Regions from separate parts of the Homo sapiens genome. Here region 1 is linked to region 2. The links are contacts of gene promoters, found by promoter capture Hi-C in human tissues and cell types (Jung and others, 2019). All regions are on one chromosome and are shown on one strand. Each heading gives the region's core, a stretch centred on a gene start or on the middle of the fragment in contact. The rest is flanking DNA. Distances are from core to core; before and after follow the strand shown. Region 1 overlaps LMO3 (LIM domain only 3). Region 2 holds the start of MGST1 (microsomal glutathione S-transferase 1).

The links. Contacts are between HindIII fragments. The study calls those that stand out against the background at their distance.
Region 1: a contact is called between a fragment that was not itself captured here and the fragment with the promoter of MGST1 in region 2, in 1 of the 25 tissues and cell types used here (hippocampus).

The regions. Positions count from the first base shown.
Region 1 is chr12:16,596,441-16,602,175 of GRCh38, reverse strand. It overlaps LMO3 (LIM domain only 3), which reads left to right. Exons shown (of 4, transcript NM_018640.5): 2 at 1,308-1,521. The coding sequence starts at 1,316. Among named protein-coding and RNA genes, the nearest start is that of LMO3, 6.9 kb to the left of the region's middle. The HindIII fragment of the contact is 6,195 bases long and covers 181-5,735 here.
Region 2 is chr12:16,345,015-16,350,890 of GRCh38, reverse strand. It overlaps MGST1 (microsomal glutathione S-transferase 1), which reads right to left and starts at 3,246. Exons shown (of 4, transcript NM_020300.5): 1 at 3,181-3,246. RefSeq lists enhancers at 1,367-2,296, 3,227-4,156. The HindIII fragment of the contact is 4,760 bases long and covers 1-4,594 here.

The DNA.
Region 1 (5,735 bases), core at 2,029-4,528, 250 kb before region 2:
TTGTATCCTTCTACATGCAAGTTTAAAACTTTATGCCTAGGAGAGCAAACATAATGCAGCAGAAGGGTCTCTGGACTGTAAGAAGGCCATTTGGCTGGAGTCTATAGCGTAACTGTCTTTCAGCTTTGAGCAAGTCTCTGAACCTCTCTTGGGCCTCGGTAACATAATTTGTAAAATGAGGGAATTTGGAATTGATGATGTCTGCAGTACTTTATAGTGCTTAAAATGAGTTATTTGATAAATATGAGGCATTGGATAGTTGGTCCAGCTTCTTGCTAAAGCTGGGTGTTTTAATACCTAGGAAATAAGAAGACACTCAAGGTGAATGTCCATTCATTCAAAAGATTTCAATCAAACTGTAAAGCCCATGGAATCCAGCTGGATTCCTTATTTATGATGGATTTATACCTTTAAAATATATAAATGTTTCTATGTTTAGCATAGTATACATATAACATGTATATATTTACTTATATATGTTTGTATAATTGTATATATATTTAGATCTTGCCTTCTATTGTTTTTTCTTTCCTTTATAAAACAAATAATTGCATGTTTATGGTAATAAATGGTATAATCATATACTTTAGGTTTACATAAAAGCATATAGTATATAGTTAAGTAATCTGCCATTAATATAGGTGCTGACTGATGCTTGTGAGTATAAATGTTATATTTGAACACAATGAATACTTTGAAATATCAAGGACATAGAAGAAGTATTTGGATGCAAGCAAGAAATATAGGATTGGTGAGCTTTTTGGGTAGCTGTTCTGTGTACTTAACTATAAACACCTCTACTGCTGAATAAGGTTAGTGTAACCCCATACCAGGTGCCCTCTCCTTCCACCATCAAGCACATATTAAGTGAAATTTTTAAACAGTTAAGCAAAACTCATTTTTTTACTTGTAGGGACTGTGCATAGATTAATTTGTTAAATAGCTTTCTTTTCAGATTGTTATTTACTCACATTTTCTTTCTAAAGGAACTGCTCTATGGGGAGAATGAAGATACTATAAAATTATTTAATGTTATTGAACTTCATATTTATAATGTCAATTTACCATGGTCAACATGAATTTATTATTATTGTCACTTGGCATGTGTAACTTTTTGAATGATTTAATAAGCACTTGATAAAGTTTGAGACTTTTTGTTTCCAAAATTGGGTTTGATTTCAGTATAGCCCTAAACAAGAAAAGCTAACACTCCTAGAATAAGGAAATATTAAATATTTAACTTGTTTGAGGTCTTTTTATTCTGTCTGGTAGTCTCAGCTCTCTTTTTTGCTTTTGTCTTCCTTTAGGTATACAAATGCTCTCAGTCCAGCCAGACACCAAGCCGAAAGGTTGTGCTGGCTGCAACCGAAAGATCAAGGACCGGTATCTTCTAAAGGCACTGGACAAATACTGGCATGAAGACTGCCTGAAGTGTGCCTGCTGTGACTGTCGCTTGGGAGAGGTGGGCTCCACCCTGTACACTAAAGCTAATCTTATCCTTTGTCGCAGAGACTATCTGAGGTAGGAATTATCCTTGCACACCAGTGATGACTGGATGCCTTTTAAAGTACTTTTGTAAGTGTATTTTTTGTTTGCTTGTTTCATTTCCTTACTGCCAGCTTATATTCCTGAAAGAAGTTACCTGTCAGCCTTCAAAGCGTTGCCCTGTGTGTGTTACTCAAATTAATGCTTAAGGAATAGCCAACAAACCACAATATTTAAAGTATTTCAATTTGGCTTGCCTGCACACTCAGGCAGTTGGTTATGGCGCTGCCTATGTTGAAACTGCCAGTTAATGTCAAGGATGTATTTGGTCGAAATCAGCATTCAGGTTGATTTACTTATTTTTTCTTTTTTTTCTTTTTTTTTTTTTTTTTTTTTTTTGGAGCTTAAGGGGGAATGGGGGTTGAGCATAACACAAAGAAATTGATCAGCCATTTGGCAAAATATCTTAACTATTTTTAAAAAGTTCAACTTGAAAAAAATGGACTGTGTAAAAGAGTTTAATTGTTGCCTCTAAGTTGGACCTGAATTTAGTCTTCTAAAGTTATTCAGCTGTCTTCTCTGTTTCAGGTGTGTCAGAGGAAGTCAGGTGCAAATCCTTGGTTAATATCTATTAGTGCATTTATTGTAGAGTTTTGAAAACTTTCCCCAAGTGTAGATACATCTTCCTCTCGCCCCACCTCATGACATTCTAAACGGGAATCTCAAAAATACAACTAAGCAATTGAACCGCCTCAGACTTGCCAGTAGTTTTATGGATAATAACAAAGTAAAGACCTCCATCATTATAGGAAAATGACAGCCACTCTCCAACCTGTAAACATCTGAATGCTTTCAGGACAAGGCAGGTGTTCTTGGTTATGGAGCTATGAAGCCTACTAAAGCTTGTTTTCCAGCATTAAGTACTCAACACAGAATTTCTGCTGAAGGAAAATTATTTTGCTTTTCAGGCAACTTTGTGACTTACTTCAGCTGCAAATTACTTATATTAATAAAGTAGGATCTATCAAATTAGAGAAATGATATATGGCATCATTGGGATTTTCATATTTAATACAATTTATCATTTTTCTGGTCTGACATTAAGCGATTTATTTGGAATTTTTTCCCTTATGACAAAATTTATCAATCAATGGTAACTCCTTTAGTACCTTGGTCATTTGATGAGGTGTTTTCTAGGGAATTTGGTCGTTCTTAGTATATAATTCAGCTATTTTCAGTCAGATCCAATCTTTAGATATAAAAATATATCATTTGATTAATGGTAGTTACAAGAGGGTGAAAGCGGTACTGTTTATCAGATTCTACTCCTTCTCGCTCTTAGGACGGCCTCATCTGACAGCCTCCTGACTAATTATGGCCACTTGTTACTACTTCTCTGTGTTCCAAGTGCGTAAAACACATGCAAGGTGCCAACAATGAGAAGTCACTCTCTCCAGCCAGGATTTCCCTCATTGTGTTGGCACAACGAATCAAAATTAATGTACAATGTTCATTTTTTTAGAACTCTCCGGTCTTTGAACTTTCCTCTTTGAAATAAAAATTTCTCTTCTGCCCATTGTGAATTAGAGCCTCATTTCCACATAAAGCATTTGTATTTGCTTTTAGTGATTTAATACTGCTTTTTAGTTTTGCTTTATCTGTACTAACCAATAGTCATAGCTTTTTGACTCCTTTTGACTTTTACATTTGTTTGTAATTTCAGTATCTCAAGTGGATTTATGTTACCATTTCAAATAAGGAGTTTATATAGCCCGGGCAATGTTAAGGTGTTTTAATAAACCAAAGGACAAAAATTAAGTAAACTTGAAAGAATGTCAACTGAAATATCTGGGGTTTTTGAAAACAAAAATAAAAATTTGCCAAGGAAATACCTATATTGTGAGTATAACATGCTTCTTAGCTGTCAACATAGCATCGAGCAAAGACAGTAATCTTAGATTTGTTTTGTTTTCTTTTTCCTTGTGGTAGTAAAAATATATTTGATAGTCTCAAGTGTTTTGCTAAAACGCATTTATCAAAAATAGTTTTCATATCAGAAGTTTTTGTATCTCTATAAGAGTGTATGTGGCTTTTTGTAGAATAACTTTCAGTTACCTCCTGATAGGCTCAAACTTTTAATGGTGGTTAACTTATTAAAAGTATATAATATTCTTTCAAATATAAACCCTGGTCCTGATTGCCAATATATTCATTTCTCAGAGTACGATTTCCGCTTAAATTGGTCATTACCACATTAATGGCCAGTTGTTATGTTAACAGCCTAACGGTTGTTAACATTTCAAACTAAGTTGTTAACAGCAATCTTGTCCCTTATTTAAACTGAAAGTTTGTTGTATATAATGTGACTTATTTGGCAACTTCATCAACACTTAAAATTGCAGAAGTGAAGTGGAGAATTGGTGTGTGTAAAACACTGTGTTACGTGTTATAGATTATGCCGCAGATGTGGTATTTAGTTTTATGTGGAAAGCATGTGTCTCAGTGAAATTGTGTAGATGTTCAACTGCATATGTCTCTGATTGGCAAATTAAAATAGTCTGATTCTGTATGGTAAATCAACAAATATAGTCAAGCAGATTTTATTTACAAATTAATTTCTTTGATTAGATACAAATAGTTGTTCAAAAATGTTTATTAAATGCTTACTGTGTGAGAGGTATGATTTCAGGCAATGGGTGAAATTAGCTAAAGGAAAAAGGAAGGTACACCTAAAGTTGCCACTATCTAATTGTTTATTTAATTACATAGAATCTGTAATATAATCAGTGAACAAGTAATATTCTGTGGTTATTTTCCTGAGCTTTAAAAGTAATTTTTCTCATTTTCCTCCAAATTCAGCATACTTCCATTTTGTATTTTATATAACCAATGTTTAATCACTTAAGTTCTATTTTAAAAGTTGTTTTATTTTTGGCCCTTTGATATTATGTAATTTCTCTGAGGCACCAAACTGAACATAAATAACTTACATATTTATATTTCATGTCTAAATTATTAAGAACATAAGTAAGAATAAGGAAAGTAATAAAATAGTAATTTGCCTGTCCACATATATTGTTGGTTACAAGTATTGTCCTGGGCCAGATAATTTTTTACATACAGTGAAAAGTAAAATATTTTTGCCAATTACATTTAGCTTCTTAATACACTTCTCCCTCCATAAACAGAAAGAAAGAAACACTCCTAATTATGAGCAATGAGACTTAAAGATCTGTGTTTTACTTGTGTTACTTTGAGTAGTGATAATGATGATGTGATTTATAAGTTCTTTGAATGATGATTTGAGATATTAAATAATATGAAAATATAATAATTTAGACTGTAAGATATTTTCTTAAGGGTTATAGAAACTATTATTATGGAAAATTTGATGTCTTTCCATTTTTTTTCTCCTTTATGGCACTAGTAGCTATATTTAAGAGAAAAAGAAAGAAAAATCTTCCATAGTTTGTACACTAAGTATCAAATCTTAACAGTGGAATTTTTCACTTTCCAGAACTGGACTGGCATATCATTCATTTAGCTGTGGAACATAAAATGTACATATCTGATGAGACAGAATTTGCCCATTTGTGGGATTGCTTTCCTCCTTTGGAAACTCATTAGCTAAAGAAAGAGAAGGACTGACTTTTTAAAACTTCCTCTAACATGTTTCTGACTGAAATTATGAAATCTACCCAGTCAATATTTATATGCCAGGCAGACCAAGAAATGTATCTGTTAAAAATCTATCCAATGCATTTATAATTATTTTTATTTTTTTGAAGAGTAACTTATGACAAATTAGATATAGAAACATCTTTGTACTTTAAGTTGGAGCTTAAAATTGATATTGTCTAAAGTAGATTAAAAATGACTGTGTAAAAATAGCAAAGTTGTAGTGATAATGTTTAAGGTACTCATCACTGCGATCTATCCGCCTTATTTCAGTTTGAAAAAATATGAATAAAGTAGCCAGCCAGTGCATAATCAGAGTCTTAGAATTAGGAATTCTACATGCTTTTATTTAATGTTTTGCAGCAAGCATTAAATAGAACTAGGAGAAATACCAAAATACTTTCTTTTTCAACTTGAAGGCAATAAAGGATGTCAGAATGTAACTGGAACTCAACTTCTGGGCAATTTTTTTGTTGTTCTTTCTTTGAACCTGCAACTTTTTGTGACGTACTTTAAGCATTAAGTCTATATAGGCTGTATGTATCTTGTATCTCTATGAATGATATCTTGCC
Region 2 (5,876 bases), core at 1,997-4,496:
ACACAGAGTTTCTCAATCACGAAGAATGTGGCTTAACTCCTCAAGTCTGTGGGTTTGGGAGACTGGCCAGCACCAAGCATCTGACACACACCTGATGAGTCAATGAACCATCTCTCCAGGGTAACATCTTCCCCTTCACAGGTACCCAAGAGCCAGGTAATGAGCAGTTAAGGTAAGAACATTAAGAAATAGTAGTTGTTTATAGCATGGATTAAGGCAATGCTGTTGTAAACTTTTTTTCCCCCAAAGCTGATTTATCAATCAATTGCCACGAGTTTGCTGCACAAAACTGCAGCCATTATCATGGTTGGCTCTGCAGCCACAACAAAATTACTGAAAGCCTTTTACCAGGAAAGGTTGTCAGGAGGGAGAAGAGTGGTCCTGTATAATAATAAATAACAGGATGAAATGTTAAGTGGTTTGAGGATTCAAGGAATGAAGGAGAAATAATCAAAGAAAAGTAAGCAGGGAAAAACACTAATTTGGTTATGAATTATAGAAAATATTTACAATGATCAATCATGTTTGCACAGTGGTTTGTTTGCTCATTATATTCTCCATTCATTGGCCAGCATGGTAATAAGTATCTCAACCTCTCTTGCCAGAGACCAGAGCTCTGTCCCCTAATGTGGAGGTGACTTCTTCATAAGAGGACATGGGGTAGAGTGTCAAGTATTCAAAACTCTGGAACTAGATTGGCATTCGGGTGGATCTCGACCCTGCCACTTAGTAAGTGTAACTTAACTTCTCTGGGACCTCTTCACCTTACCTGTGAAAGGAGTTGAATAAGAACTCCCATTTCACTGGATTCTTGTGAGCCTTAGCTGAATAAAGTTAGAAAAGCGGGGGCCGAGCGCGGTGGCTCATGCCTGTAATCCCAGCACTTTGGGAGCCGGAGGCGGGCAGATCACGAGGTCAGGAGATCGAGACCATCCTGGCTAACATGGTGAAACCCCGTCTCTATTAAAAATACAAAAAATTAGCTGGGCGTGGTGGCAGGTGCCTGTAGTCCCAGCTACTCGGGAGGCTGAGGCAGGAGAATGGCGTGAACCCGGGAAGCGGAGTTTGCAGTGAGCTGAGATCGTGCCACTGCACTCCAGCCTGGGTGACAGTGCGAGACCCCGTCTCAAAAAAAAAAAAAAAAAAAGAAGCTCTGGGACCTGTTAAATGCTGTGTGTTTGGTAAATAAAAAACTTCCGACTTTGGCGCTGTTCTAGGCACTGAGGATTTTAGAATTTTCAAAAAGCTTTTGCATATTTTATCTCGCTTGACCCGAAAAATCCTGAGGTAGAGCAAATAATATTTTTTTCTACCTTTAGTATGTAAGGAAATTAAGGCCCAGAAAAGTAGTGAGTAATATGACCCAAATTCACAGTGGAGAGACCAAGACTGCAACTTAGTTTTCTCAAGTGTTTACCTCTGGGCTACCCACCATCAAGGCTAAGAATTCTCAACAGCTCTGGTCTTCTGGAGGCCTTTCCTTGTCAAATCTCATTCCTGTTTTCTACCCCTCCCCCCAAACCCCCGTACTATCTAGCAGAGAAGAATCTTCACTTCTCAGTTGAGGAACGCCCTTTCCCTTTACAGGCTTTTGGCCAAAATGAGCAAAGTTCTCTTCTCAGGATGAGGTGGCCAGCCTTTCTGCATCAATATTGTGAAACACATGAATAATCTGGGCACGCATCCCCAGGGCCATGACTCTGCAATTTTGTACCTTCTAAAACTAACAAACACTACACATGAGATAAAGAAAAAAGATAATTCGGTGGCCATGTTGCGGATACGTTAATCTGGAACTCTAGATGAATTCTAGCATTTCCTGAAGGCATCGTGGTGGCTGCAGACTCAGCCCACTATGTGGTCTCATGCAAAGTGGGGTTCAGAGCCCAGAGGCTGCAGGTGAAATGCTGGTGCCTCTCGGGAGAGTGGTGGGGTAAGGCCTTTCTCTGTGCTGACCTGACCTCCTTTTCCAATCTCAGGGATTCATAGACACCACTCTAAAACAAAGCGGTAGAAAAATTTTACTCGTCTGCCAGAGAGGGTAATATCCAAATTTGGACTGATTTGCCTTTTTTTTTTTTTTTTTTTTAATTACCAAAGATAATCGCACACATAGCCCTCTTATTTTGGAAACAGCAGAGGACAACAAAGTCCAGTACTATCCTAAGGCCAAGAAAAGCATATGCAAAAGGTAGGTGTAGGCTGGGACTCACAGCAGGCTGGGACCCCAGGAAAACTGGGCTTTAAGGATTGCTCACTGGAGGCCTGGGTGCTATACAGCAATGCTTGCGGGCACCCACTCAGCACTCACTGGGTAAGAAATTAGGGAGAAGAAATAGGGGAATATAAACGTGGAGCTCAGACTGCCACATTTCAAGAGAAGCAGAGAGACTAGAAGATTTACATGCACTCCTCTCTCCTCTGTCCCAAGCCAGCTAGAGCAATATATGACACCTTAATTCCCGAAAAAGAGAGTTCCCTTCTCCTTTTCTCCTTCCACATGGCTTCCTCCTCCAGACTGGGGAAGTGGGGCACAGGTGAGAACCGTCCCAAGGGGCTCACCCTTAGCTCTCTTGTCACTGGCTATAATATCACACAAAAATATTATCATCTAACCCACATCCTCTTGTTTCGATAGCTAGCATTATTAGCAGTAGTATTATTTAGTATTATTTTAAAACTTGCTGATGTTTCTCCTATCAAAGTGAACTCAGAAGAGCAAATCCTGCCTTACAATAGGCATAAAGGCCACTATGCCCATGAAACCTGAGACATCGCAGGCTTTTGCACTCTTGGGGAGAACAGCAGTCGTTCAAACTACAGGCATTTCCTCCATTACTACACGTGCCTTTTCCTCCTTCCCCAGAGTTCAAGGGACCCTTTCAAACAGGAGGTTACTTTGACTTGAAAAGGCTAAGTTTGGAAATCATCACTCAAGCATGAAAAGACTCTCTCGTTTCATTCCTGGAGTTTGAGAAATGGGAAAACTTACCCGCACGGGGACAGAAATACAATTCCCTTTCAAAAGCGATCGATTGAAAAGCTAAGTTTAGCTGCTAAGTGGAGCCAAGCACTTCCAGCTGGCAGAGACCCCCCCAAGTCTTCCATCTGCCACCCACCCTGGCCCTCCCTGCCTGCCACCCTTTGCATGCGGTCCCCTTCTCCCCTCCCAGTACGCACGGTGAGGCCGAGGAGGAGGAAGCAGCAAGCCTGTCCCGCCGCCGGGTCGCGCGCAATGCAGGGACTGTGGCCGCGCGGGCCGGACGCAGGCACCGCCCCTCTCCAGTTAATCTCCTGTTAATTAGCCCTCCCACGTTTAAAGCCCGACCCCAACCTCGCCAAACCCCTCCTCTAAATCACCTGATTTACCCGCCCACAGTAACCATCGCCTGCTGATTCCCTTTGAGCCCTTCTATTTGGCGCCCTTAGAAACTCTGGTTCCTGAAATGCCAACTCCCCTAATCAGTGGGAAGGGGGACAGTAGCCATTGTCTAGGAACTCTGAATTCTCGAACATTTCAGGATCAGCAGAGTTTTGGAAGTTGTTTTTAAAAACTTCGCAGAAAGTTAAAATCTCCAGGGTAGAACTAATTAGCAGGCATTGACAATATTACCTTCCCTTAGACTTCACCTCCCCTGCGCTGGTGGCAAGGCCTCCTTAAAAGGCTGACAATGACAGAATGTAACCCTCAGTAAAGATCACTTACGGTGTTCCAAATTCATGATACCAGACAATTTGCTTTGTCACGATGTCCCCTCCTGTTCAGGGTCCAGAATGAAATTGGAGGCAATTGTACTGGATCAGCTCATTACACAATCAGCTTAGTGTGTTTTTTACAGGGAGGTTTAGAGGAACGTTTACGGAAGCCGTAGATATTTAGCCTACCATCACTATCTAGATTAGGGATACTTCCAAGCTTCCTAGTCCCCATAGTCCCCACAATATTTATGGATCTATCTTTCATGGGTTTATATGAGAAATGTTTAAGGATTTCTGTTTTCAATCTATATTATTTCTCTCCTAGTGCTATATCTCAGACACTCACCACCTGTTGCAAGGTCTACTTCCTTTTTTTGCTCTTAATTTACTCCTTTAGGCTTTAAAGGATATCCCTAGGACTAACTTTCTAGGATGTGATGGACAAGTTCATGTTCTATTAAAGAAAGAAATAACTACCAGTTTGCTCTAGGAACAGAAATTAATCCAAGGAAGGTCTGAGAATGATTTCTATATAAGCATAACAGTAGGAGTTTTGGAAAATCTAGCATCAGAAGGCATCTGTTCTTCACTTTTATGTCTGTATCTTTTCAAAACTCTACTTATTCACCTATCTTTGTAAAGTATACTAGAATCTGTCTGTAACATTAACTGGAATAGGATAGAATTTGAGATGACATAAATCTATTCTGAATTCTCTCCAAAGGAGTTTGGTATTATAAGAATTTAAGACTCTCTTCATTTATTATAAGGTGATACAGGCCAAATCTTATGGATAACATGGCAGAAAAAGGAAGAGGAGAGCTACTGTTTAGATAATTTGGTCTACAGAATGCTAGTTGAATGGTTCTAACATTTTTTTTTTTTTTTTTTTGAGACGGAGTCTGCCTGTGTAGCCCAGGCTGGAGTGCAGTGGCGCGATCTCAGCTCACTGCAAGCTCCGCCTCCCGAGTTCACACCGTTATCCTGCCTCAGCATCCCAAGTAGCTGGGATCACAGGCACCTGCCATCACGCCTGGCTAATTTTTTGTATTTTTAGTAGAGACGGGGTTTCTCTGTGTTAGCCAGGATGGTCTTGATCTCCTGACCTCGTGATCCACCTGCCTCAGCCTCCCAAAGTGTTGGGATTACAGGCGTGAGCCACTGCGTCCAGCTGGTTCTAACATTTTTTTAAAAAAGAAAGTAGCACTTGACTCATCTAATGCTCTAAATATAGAATGTGTTCAAACTATTAATTGATCAATGAATAAATACTGAGTTCCTACTATCACTAAATCACGAACAATTATTGCCTGTTACATACATATATATATGTGTGTGTGTGTTTGTGTGTATCAGGCAATATTATATATATACATACGGATATATATATGACACTGTATTGGGTAGAATATTAGCAGTTGGTTTAATTGAATAAACATTTATTAAATGAATGCAATGTACTTGGTTTGATGCTAAAATCTAAAACTAAGATAAATAACGTCAAAGAGCTGTCCTCCAGGATTTTACAATCTAGTAAACACAAAGGCCAAAAAGGTAAAAAGTTGCCATTAAGCTTGTGGAAGGAAAGTTTCCATTTAGAAATAAGAATGACAGTTGGGGTGTGAACTAGGGCGGTAACAGGTAAAAGTTGTAAAATAATTGACACTTTATATTCATCTTTGTTATAAGCTCTTAAATGATTGAGAAAGAGAGAGAGTTGTTATTCAGCTTAGTTTCGTCTGGGTAAAAGAATGGATTCAGCTTTTCAACCCTTCCTCTCACCACCATTTAAATTCTAGAATACCATCTTTTAGAGAAACTCAATCCAAGCCTCAGAACAAGTAATTCCCTAGTAAATATTAAAACAGTTTAAAAGGTCATTGATTTGGGGTGAGGAGAGCAAAGGTCATTCATCTGAAAAAGGAATTACCACAATAAAGAAAAAAAAAGCAGACTGTTCAGGGGATCAAATTAGAAATATCTGGAAGAGCAAAGCATTGGAAGTCCAGTAATACCTTTGTCTGTTTTTAAAACAGACAAAGTAAAAATGGCAGAAAGAATTGCCATCACCTTCTGTTAAGGCTTGCTGTAAATAGGAAGAAAACAGGTGCCTGTCACTCCCCTCAATTATATTGGGGCCTTTGTTTTTCCCTAAATCCACAGAACAGGTGCCCTGC